Regions from separate parts of the Homo sapiens genome. Here all the other regions are linked to region 3. The links are contacts of gene promoters, found by promoter capture Hi-C in blood cells and fetal thymus (Javierre and others, 2016). All regions are on one chromosome and are shown on one strand. The core of a region is centred on a gene start or on the middle of the fragment in contact, and the rest is flanking DNA. Distances in the headings are between cores, read along the strand shown. Region 1 overlaps PCBP2 (poly(rC) binding protein 2). Region 2 overlaps ATF7-NPFF (ATF7-NPFF readthrough). Region 3 holds the start of ZNF740 (zinc finger protein 740).

The links. Contacts are between HindIII fragments. The CHiCAGO score rates a contact against its expected background, and 5 or more counts as called.
Region 1: a contact is called between a fragment that was not itself captured here and the fragment with the promoter of ZNF740 in region 3, in 2 of 17 cell types (naive B cells and activated CD4 T cells). The highest score is 6.3, in naive B cells.
Region 2: a fragment that was not itself captured here is called in contact with the fragment with the promoter of ZNF740 in region 3 in 1 of 17 cell types (total B cells); the score reaches 5.2 in total B cells.

The regions. Positions count from the first base shown.
Region 1 is chr12:53,473,196-53,476,300 of GRCh38, reverse strand. The region is part of intron 14 of PCBP2 (poly(rC) binding protein 2); the gene reads right to left. Among named protein-coding and RNA genes, the nearest start is that of PCBP2-OT1, 10 kb to the right of the region's middle. The HindIII fragment of the contact is 280 bases long and covers 1,585-1,864 here.
Region 2 is chr12:53,514,851-53,518,057 of GRCh38, reverse strand. It overlaps ATF7-NPFF (ATF7-NPFF readthrough), which reads left to right. Exons shown (of 15, transcript NR_159377.1): 12 at 704-1,043. It overlaps ATF7 (activating transcription factor 7), which reads left to right. Exons shown (of 12, transcript NM_006856.3): 12 at 704-3,207. The coding sequence ends at 921. It overlaps ATF7-AS1 (ATF7 antisense RNA 1), which reads right to left. Exons shown (of 3, transcript NR_046221.1): 3 at 450-2,549. Among named protein-coding and RNA genes, the nearest start is that of ATF7-AS1, 2.5 kb to the right of the region's middle. RefSeq lists an enhancer at 470-969 and a silencer at 1,936-2,177. The HindIII fragment of the contact is 300 bases long and covers 1,554-1,853 here.
Region 3 is chr12:53,178,916-53,181,990 of GRCh38, reverse strand. It overlaps ZNF740 (zinc finger protein 740), which reads right to left and starts at 1,269. Exons shown (of 7, transcript NM_001004304.4): 1 at 1,154-1,269; 2 at 1-314. The coding sequence starts at 7. It overlaps CSAD (cysteine sulfinic acid decarboxylase), which reads left to right and starts at 1,066. Exons shown (of 17, transcript NM_001244705.2): 1 at 1,066-1,259; 2 at 2,849-2,889. RefSeq lists silencers at 252-546, 900-1,199, 1,490-1,579 and an enhancer at 1,242-1,800. The HindIII fragment of the contact is 11,552 bases long and covers 1-3,075 here.

The DNA.
Region 1 (3,105 bases), core at 475-2,974, 290 kb before region 3:
TACAGATTAGTTGATCCTTAAGGTTCCTTCCAAATCTAAGCATGTCACTTCCTACTCCTGATAGTGCTGGTGGGGAGCAGAAAGGATACGGCCAGGAATAGAAAAAAGGGTAAAGAAACTTGGTTGACAGAGTTGGTTTAGGACTAGTGGATGGCATCATGTCAAGTTGTGGATAATGTCACGGGTTGGCTGAGATATACCTAATGTCACAGAAAGAGGCATAATGCTAATTCAGAGGAATGCAGACAGAAGCTGCCTAATTTTATTAGACTTATCCCACTTTGCCCCTCCCCTTCATTCTGGGTAAAGAAGTATGTTCTTTGAATGTATGACTTGGAAGAGATCCTCATGGTAACCATTCACCAGAGGAATCCTGGGATGAACACCTTGTTAGCTGCTGCTGGCAAGGTAAGGCCATCTGAGAAGTCAGATAAACTTCCTCACTAGTGAAGCTTGTTGCCAATTACAGAGGACCTTCAGGATCTAAACTGCCACAGACTCGTTATCTCTTTGTGGAAATATTGACAAACGACTATAAAATTCACTTGGGATTCAAAAAGCCCATGTCAGTTATACAGGCTTCCTAGCTGAATAGCCACAAGTCACAAGCCCCCAACCCTTTACCCTTCACAGCACACAGTGTACTAAGGTTCTTACTGCGCCAACTTTATTACAGCTAGAAACACAAATATGGCCAAGAAGGCCTGCTGATAGCTTAACCATTAAATAATTCTTAAAAAAAAAAAAAAAAGTTAACGAAGCAGCTTTTATTCATTAACACAGAGCCTAACACATTGTTATATTGCAAGGCAGAATAAAGCTACAAAGAAAAGTAACAAACAAGAAAGAAGAGAAAACTGTGGCTCTAGATAAAGAATTCAAGTCAGACCCTGAAACAGGCACTCAGCTGAAATGGCCTAAACCTAAACAAGGGTTACCACTCCCCCACCCCCACCCAGTTATCCCCCAAAGTAGTAAAAAGGAAACGGTAACAAGCTCACAATAGTTTCATTCTCACCAATGTTAACAAAGGAAAACAAAATGAACAAAATAATACTGGAGGAGGTGCCTCAAGGTATGCAATCAGTAGGGAGAGAATCTCTGTTTCTCGCCTTTCAGTTTGTTAGTTACACATGGCACGGCAGAGGTGGTGGTGGTGGTAGCTGAAGCCCCGGTACCCTTAGCAGCAGACACAACATTTAGAGCCAGGAGAGGGATGGGTTTCATGCCAAGCAGACTGGAGACACAAGGGGCGGTCGGAAGAGGGTTGGGGAGGCTGGAGGGTGCGTCGGAGGTCCCCGCTGTGGCGAGCGAGGGGGTGGTGGTGGAGGAGGAAGAAGAAGAAGGGGTGGAGGGTTGAGAGAGGTTGATGCTGAGGTGATCAGGGATCGTGACGGAGGCTGCCTGGGAGGAGGGTTTAGCGTTTTCTAAACTGTAACAGAGGAAAAAAGGAACAAAAAAAAAGGGTGGGTGGAAGGGAAGACCACAAAAGGGAGTAAGTACAGGACAAAAACTGCTTCAGTTATATCAGTAAGTGCCTCTGGTTGACAATTAGGAAGACCTAGTGTCAACTTGTGACAAGCTTTCTTTTAGCCTATGTCCCACCCTCTAAATATGTATATTTCCATTCCACAGAGCTACTTAAAAACTGCTATGGTGAAGAAAAAGCTGACAGAGAAAAGAAATCATAGGGCACATACTTCATGTATCTGACACACTGACCCAACCCAGATGTTGAAGGAATGATTTCGGGTAGAAAAAGATACTCATCAATCACCCAACAAGGAAGAAATGTTTCCTCTAATCAAATGTCAATTTCCTATTCTAACAGAAAATCAATTATCCCACAATTACTTGTGAAGCTTTGAATATTTATAAAGCAGAATTTTTAAAAATCCTTCCAGCTATGTATTAAAGTCTGCTTACATCTCCACAGCAAACAAACCAGTATCAGGGTGGAAAGAGACAAGAGTCCAAAGTAGGTCACTGACTAATTTCAAATTTCAAAGAATGTAGCGTTTTCAAAGAAAAATGCTGAGAACAGAAGTGTAGATAAGAACTAGGGAAGCTTTTCTGGTGGGAGGTGGTATAAAAAGTTGTTTCTGACTGATCATACTTCTAATGTGGACCTTTCAGAAGTGGAAAAGAGAAACTCAAGTATCACCTAAAAATTCATACTTAAGCGAAAATGCTGCTGCTTCCACTCCCAAAATAAGCTCCACAGAACAGTAAGGGTACATGTCTCCCAAATGCCTGTATGTGTCTAAGCCAGAACTACATATATTTGGGAAGTGTGCCTGGACAATTGAGCCCACAACGCTAAGTCTTCAAGAGCAGAAAGGCTCCTCTTAAAACCTCATTTTATTTACCTATGTCCAAGGACAGCTGCAATCCATAAAGGAAAGGGATACAGAAGTCAACTAACTATATAAAAGGACAGACTGCCACCATGAAAAATCAAGAGACAGGAGAAAATGCTCAGAATCCAGTAAAATCCTTCTTGACTTAAAAAAAATGAGAAAGGAAAAAAAAAAAAACCCTTTGACTTCTGCATTTAAACTGCACCAAGTTGAGAAAGAATAAGCTTTGTGCATGCATAATCTTTGCTTTGGTGTTAGATGAAGCTTTGAAAAGTTTTGACCCTAATCCATGGCTAAGATACCGAATTGCTATTCAGTAACAATGATCCTGAAAAGAGCCACTCTACCAAGAGAATTCTGCTTCCTTACAATGTAGCCACTGACCTATTGCAGGAGCTAGGCAAGCAGGTCACATTTAAACAGTCACAATTTAAATTACATGAAGGGCAAGCCTATCGAAAGAACAAAACAAATTCCAGCTTTCAAAAACCTGATTCTTGCCACTGAAAACTGAAAACTTCTTGCCCTCCAAAATCCTAATTACAAATAAGAAAAACAAGCTGGGCATAGTGGCTCACGCCTGTAATCCCAGCACTTTGGGAGGCCGAGGCAGGTGGATGACAAGGTCAAAAGATCGAGGCCATCCTTGCCAACATGGTGAAACCCCGTCTATACTAAAAATACAAAAATTAGCTGGACGTGGTGGCACGTGCCTGTAAGTCCCAGCTACTTGGGAGGCTGAGGC
Region 2 (3,207 bases), core at 454-2,953, 340 kb before region 3:
CCCCATCTCTACTAAAAATTCAAAAATTAGCCAGGTGTGGCAGTGTGCACCTGTAGTCCCAGCTACTCGGAAGGCTGAGGCACGAGAATCACTTGAACCTGGATGGCAGAGGTTGCAATGAGCTGAGATTGCACCACTGCACTCCAGCCTGGGCAACAGAGCAAGACTCAGTCTTAGGAAAAAAAATAAATAAATAAAATAATGGAATAATTCAGTTCCTGTGAGAATTAATCAAAGAGGATGGCTAAAAAGAGATCTATTTTAAATCATCTTTAAAGAAATGAAGGCCAGGCGCAGTGGCTCATGCCTATAATCCCAGCACTTTGAGAGGCCAAGGCAGGAGGATCACTTGAGACCCTATCTCTTAAAAACAAGAAAGAATAGAAGTAATGAATAATAATAAGAGTTGGTAATGAACTATGCAAAGACCTAGAAACCAGACAGTGTAATTAACATGTTGGAGATTCATTTTATTGGAATAGATAGGTTAATTTTGGCCTAGTTCTTCCCTTCTTACAACTTCCCATTTCCTAGCCCATTTATGACTTAGAAGCCAGGATTCTGGGAAGTTTTCCCCAAAAAAAAGATGGGTTTCATTTCCCTTTTGGGCTCCTTTAGAATTATGGCAAAAGGTAGTCCTGCCTCTTTCCCCATTCTGTTTTCTAACCAATTGCTCTCTGCTCTTTGCCCTCCTTCCTGGCAGAAAGCCCCAAGGAAAGCTCAGAGCCAACGGGTTCTCCAGCCCCTGTGATTCAGCACAGCTCAGCAACAGCCCCTAGCAATGGCCTCAGTGTTCGCTCTGCAGCTGAAGCTGTGGCCACCTCGGTCCTCACTCAGATGGCCAGCCAAAGGACAGAACTGAGCATGCCGATACAATCGCATGTAATCATGACCCCACAGTCCCAGTCTGCGGGCAGATGATGCCTCCTCTGGTGGAGAGGTCCTCAGCCAGAGCTCGCCCGCCCAAGAGCCAAGAGAGATGTCATCTTATCCCCTCCCATCTGCCTTGGACATGGCAATATGGGTGGGGGGAATTGTGTGTTGTGAGTAATGGACAGATATGGGGCTTTTTAGCCATGTGGTCATGTACGTTTGACACCTGTGCTGGGGGCCTCCCAGCCCCGGAGCCTCATAGATCATCCCCCAGGGTGGGGTTTCTGATGCATCCACAGCCAAAGGCCTTTCCAGATGGTCCGAACAATCACCCCTGCCCCATGCACGTGTATCTGTCTCTTTTAACACTAACCCTTGGCACTTCTAGGTTTGGGGTTTCTCAGTTCCCTCTCTTCCCACTAAGCCGTGGCTGTTACCTTTTTGTTCCTTACCAGCATGCCACTTCCTGCCAGATAGAGGGAGGCTAGATTTGATGACATATTACCCGCTGACCCAGCCCCAGCCACCCCATGGACTCAGGACTCAGGTCTCCCATAGCTGCTTATTTACCCGTTTCCTTTTTCCTCTTCCTTAATTCTAGTTAAAACATTCACTTACGGAGAATGTAAGGTTACCTTTGATGTATGAAGTAGCAGTATTTTCCAGTTTTTCCATAAGCTTTATTCCTTCTCTCTACCTGCCACCAAAAAGAAAGAAACCCTCAAGAGTTCTAATTCTTTTTCATCTATTTGCAGAGCTATTTGGGTACCTCATTTTGTCCCTTGACTTTAGTGTAGTGGTGGGGTCTTTCCCACCACCCCACTAAGCCTTGGCAACCTCATTTTGTGGCCTTATTATTAAAGATTGCTTGGTAGTGAAAAGGGAAGGGCCCAGAATCTGACTGGCTGATTCTGTCTCCTCCCCTCCCTCCTTCTTTAGTTTAACCATCAGGGCAGACAGGAACAAAGTATTTCAAAGCTTGTTCCATCAAGTTAGGGATTAATCGATTCCTTTATGTTTTATAAGAGTTTACCGGCCAAAGCATATTGTCATCTTTGGTCATTTTTCTGCTCCTGCTTCTCTCTCTTCATTCCCCTATCAACATTACCGCCCCTGTCTCTCTTCTGTAACTACTTCAGACTCAGCCCTCCTGGAGGCTGTCATGTAGGGGACTCTCGAGTTCCTTTGTTCTACCCCATCTCTCCCCCTCACACATCTGTCTGCTTTTCTGAGCTAGAGTCTTCTGTTCACAAGTGCCCATCACCGTCTGGACTATCTTCTTTCTCTTTCACCAGGTTCCTAGCTTAGCCACTAGGTCTTCCAGGTCCTCCAGAGTTTCTTCAACCCATTTCTTCTCTCTTCTCTTTACATGCAGTGCTCCAGGATCTTGAAGCGTCATAGCCAAGATGCTGAGTGGGTTTACTTGAGTATAAGATTGAAAGGAGGGAGGAAGAGGAGAGGGAAAGTGCAGAACTGGTCCCAGCAAAGGACCCCAGGTTCTGGCCTGGGAAATTGGTGACTATTGCTCTCAACCATTCTTACTTTGAAGAGTTGGGTTGCAGAGGGAGCAATTCATCTCTCTTGTCCCTCTTCCACGTTAAGGCTTCTCATCTCCCCTTGGCTCTGAACTATGCAGTTTCTACCAGGACCATAGGAAGCAATTCAGAGCCAGAGGCCTGTGGATAGATAGGTCAGCTTTAATTGCCTTTCCGTATGAAACCCTTCCAGTTGTCCCAGAGCCACTTTCTGCCATCTGTGCAAGCCAAGAATGTCCTTCTCTCCATCTTTCCTACCTCCATCTTAAACATACATACAAAATAACTGCCAGCTTCCTTTCTTATTTTGTCTCCAAAATTGACTGTCACAGGGGAATGAGAAAATGTTCTAAGCTACAAGATTCCCGTTTCCTTAAAGTGATATCCTGTCCTAGTGAACCAGTCAGGTAACAGGTTCTGCTGCATTTGTTTTAAATTTCCCCTCCTGCTTTTCAGAGCTGGTGCTGAACAGGCCACACCCCTAAAGACAAAGGAGAGAAAACACGGTTTTCTCATCCTCTACCATCAGGTACCCAACAGGAATAGGCCCTGAAGTGATTCAGACTAGCAAATGTTATGGCAGATGGTCAGGACGCAGGTTACCACATCCAGGGACTTCACTTTTGCCTTTAAAAATTCACAGCCGTAACTTGTGCTCAGGACTTCCCCTTTAGCTGGCTGCTCCCTGGGATTTTCTCCTGCTTTAGAGTTTTGTTTCATTTTTTTATTGTCTTGATTTCCCAGTAGCAGCCTTGCCCTAAAGCTTGACTGAGTTTATGGCTCCTAAGGAGCTTTCCTA
Region 3 (3,075 bases), core at 20-2,519:
GAGCCATGCTGATTTCTCACTTAAGGCAACCCAAAAGTTCAGGAGTTCCTAGGTCCACCTTTCCTTGAGACACTGTCGTTTTGAAGAACTGTCACCAAATCACGGTAGCGACTCCTTCGTGTCCCATCAGTCCTGTTGCCATATTGAACTTTGTCTTCAAATAGAACTTAGTGTCCTCCGAAGAAAAGATAGGTGTTCCAAGAATCCCTGGACTCTGCCTGGCTCCTGCCTATTGTCTGAAGAAAAAGAGAGTCTACCAGTCTTGGTTTTCCAGTTGAATTCTCTTGATGAAGCTCACGATCTGTTTCAGAAACCTGAAACCAGAAAGGAAGAGGGGGGCTGCTAAATGCAACATCTTCAGGCCATTACAACGTGCGATATGAATTTTTTTTTTGCTGGGCGCTCTCTGTGAAGCTCAGAACGAGGACATGAGTCAAGAAGAGTTTTCTTTCTAGGTCAATAGGAGGAACTGGTCTCCTGGGCAAGGAGTGGAAGCCAACAGGAGCAAAAGTAATTGGGGCCTCCTATGGAGGAACTCTGCCAAAAGGAAAGTTGCTTGGATTTGCCATCTCAGGAATGGAAGAAGGGGGCGGAGACCCTTTGGGGCTTTTGTGCCCAGTGGGCCGGCCCGAAAAGCTCGCACTTTACAGAGGCGGCAAGACTAGGGTGGAGGAAAGCTCAAGGGCCATCGCTGGGTGCTTCGGTGGCGGGCAGAAACGGGACTGGCAGTGCCCACACGTGTGCGTTCTCCCCGTCCGCCCGAAGGTAGGGAAACTTGCTGCGGAGGTGGAGGACAGGCAGGCGAAGCCCGGCGCGGCGTGTCGCCCGCCTCGCTCCGGCCAGCCAGCCTCTGCACCCGCTGCACCAACCGGGAGCAGAGCCGGAGAGTGCCGAGAAGCGCGCGAGATGCGTGCTCGCGCCCGCGTCCCCTCCGAGAGCCCTCTCCCGGGCCGGGGACGCGGCGGGACGCGCGGGCAGGGGGCGGTGTGCGCGCACGGCCTTTCCCCTCCCTCCCCCGGAGATCCCCCTCCCTTCGCCACGCGCCCCTCCTCCCCTCCCCTCCCCCTTCCCGCGCGGCACCCCACGGCTTGCGAGCTACTGAAGCGCTGCCGTCTGTACGGACGACGCTGCGGTCTTTGGGGCTTGCTCCTACCTGCCAGGCGCGGCCTCCCGCTGGCTCCCTGGCCGCGCGGCGCCTCCTCCAGGCCCCAGCACACCCTGCCAACCCCACCGCCGCGGCTGCCCCCACCGGGACCGAGGCAAGTTTACAAACACCAACCCCGGCCCGTTTCCCCGGAAGCACTTCCCCCTCCCCCTCGTCCTCTCCGCCGAGCGGCTGCATCCACTTCCGGGCTCGGCAGCTAGACTAGCGGGGGCAGCCTCAGAGCGGGTGAGCTTGGGGACGCACGGAGAGGTGCAGCTGGGTGAGTGGGCGGCGCCGTGCGCCGAGGGCATGGAGGAGGGAGCGCTGAGGCCGGCGCGTGCGCCGTGGCCGGGGCGCGCCCCGGCCGCCATCGAGACTGAGGGCAGGACCCTCGGCCCTTCGATGATTGTACGCTGGGTGCTCGATGGGAGGAGGGTTTGCTGGGTGAGCTGGTTCAGACTCCTTGAAAAATCATCGTCACTCTTTCTTCCTCGCGGACGTCCTGCCCATCGCTCTGAGCCGGCGCCCCAAGTAGAGCCAGAGTAGTTCGTACCCAGCCTTTTCACGTAACTCGGCCGAGGTGGTTCTTCTCCGAATTTTTTCCGTCAGGCCCAGATTAGCAGATTTTGGGGTCAGCTGGGAGAGGCGTTAACTTTTCTTCGCACACTCTTGCTTTGTGCGCTCAACCACAGTCTGAATTCTCGCAGAGGCGTTCCTTGAGTAGCCCTTGGCCACACTGCTCACCTCCCTGCAGAAGTCAAAGCCCCAGCCCTCCTCTGCGAATCCCGAGGCCAGCCTGGTTGGTTACCTTCTCCCCTTCGCCCTTTACTCCAGGCCGTCCAGCATCAAACACTAGCCTCCACACGTGGAAAAGACCCTGACTCCCACAGTAGACTAGTCTTATGGGAGTCCTGGCTCTTGGGCCAGGCTGCATTAGGAAAATGGAAACCAGACTGTCTTCAAATTCTTCTGCCTAGCCTTAGCCATTAGAGAGAGGTCCTGCTAAAGATGGACTGCAAATGCGCTTGATGGAAGGAGATGTCAATTCCACTGAAGTCCTCATTTCTGCTGTAGGTGATATTATGTCGTGACTTTAGGAGAAGTAATGGTGATACCAAAAGAAAAAAAAAACTGTATGATGAAAAAAAGACAAGGATTCTCAACTTTTTTTTTTTTGTAGACAGATTTCATTTCCCTGAGCCACTCCATGATTTGGGCCATTGAAAGTACGTTTTTTGTGTTTTAGGATCATTCTAAAATAGAGACAAAATGGAGAAAGAGAGAGATAAAGAAACATCACCAGGAATAAGTCTTTTAAATCTTTTTTGAAAATTAGCTCCTACTTATTTTACAAATCGACACAACGCAAAAGTATAAAAGACACAAAATGGTTATTCTCCCCCTCTACTTATCCCATGCTCCTGAAGGGAATCATTCTTACCAGTTTGGTATATATGCTTTTAGGCTTTTTTCTGTGTTCATACAAAAATCTTTTCAACCAGTATTTATTGAGCACCTGTAATGCGCCATACAGTGTATTTTAGACATCTGAGTCAGCTAACATTTAAAAAACTGTTGCACAGTATTCCAGTTTATGTGTGTGCCTTGTCCCATCTTGATGAACATTTAGGTTTCAGATTTTTTTGCTTTATAAACAATACAATAATGAACATCCTTAAATAGTTATCTTTTTGCTCCGGGCAGGGTGGCTCACACCTGTAATCCCAGCACGTTGGGAAGCCGAGGTGGGCGGATCATCTGAGGTCGGGAGTTCCAGACCAGCCTGACCAACATGGAGAAACCGCGTCTCTTCTAAAAATACAAAATTAGCCGGGCGTGGTGGCACATGCCTGTAATCCCAGCTACTCGAGAGGCTGAGTCAGGAGAATCACTTGAACCCGGGAGGCGGGAGTTGTGGTGAGGCGAGAGTC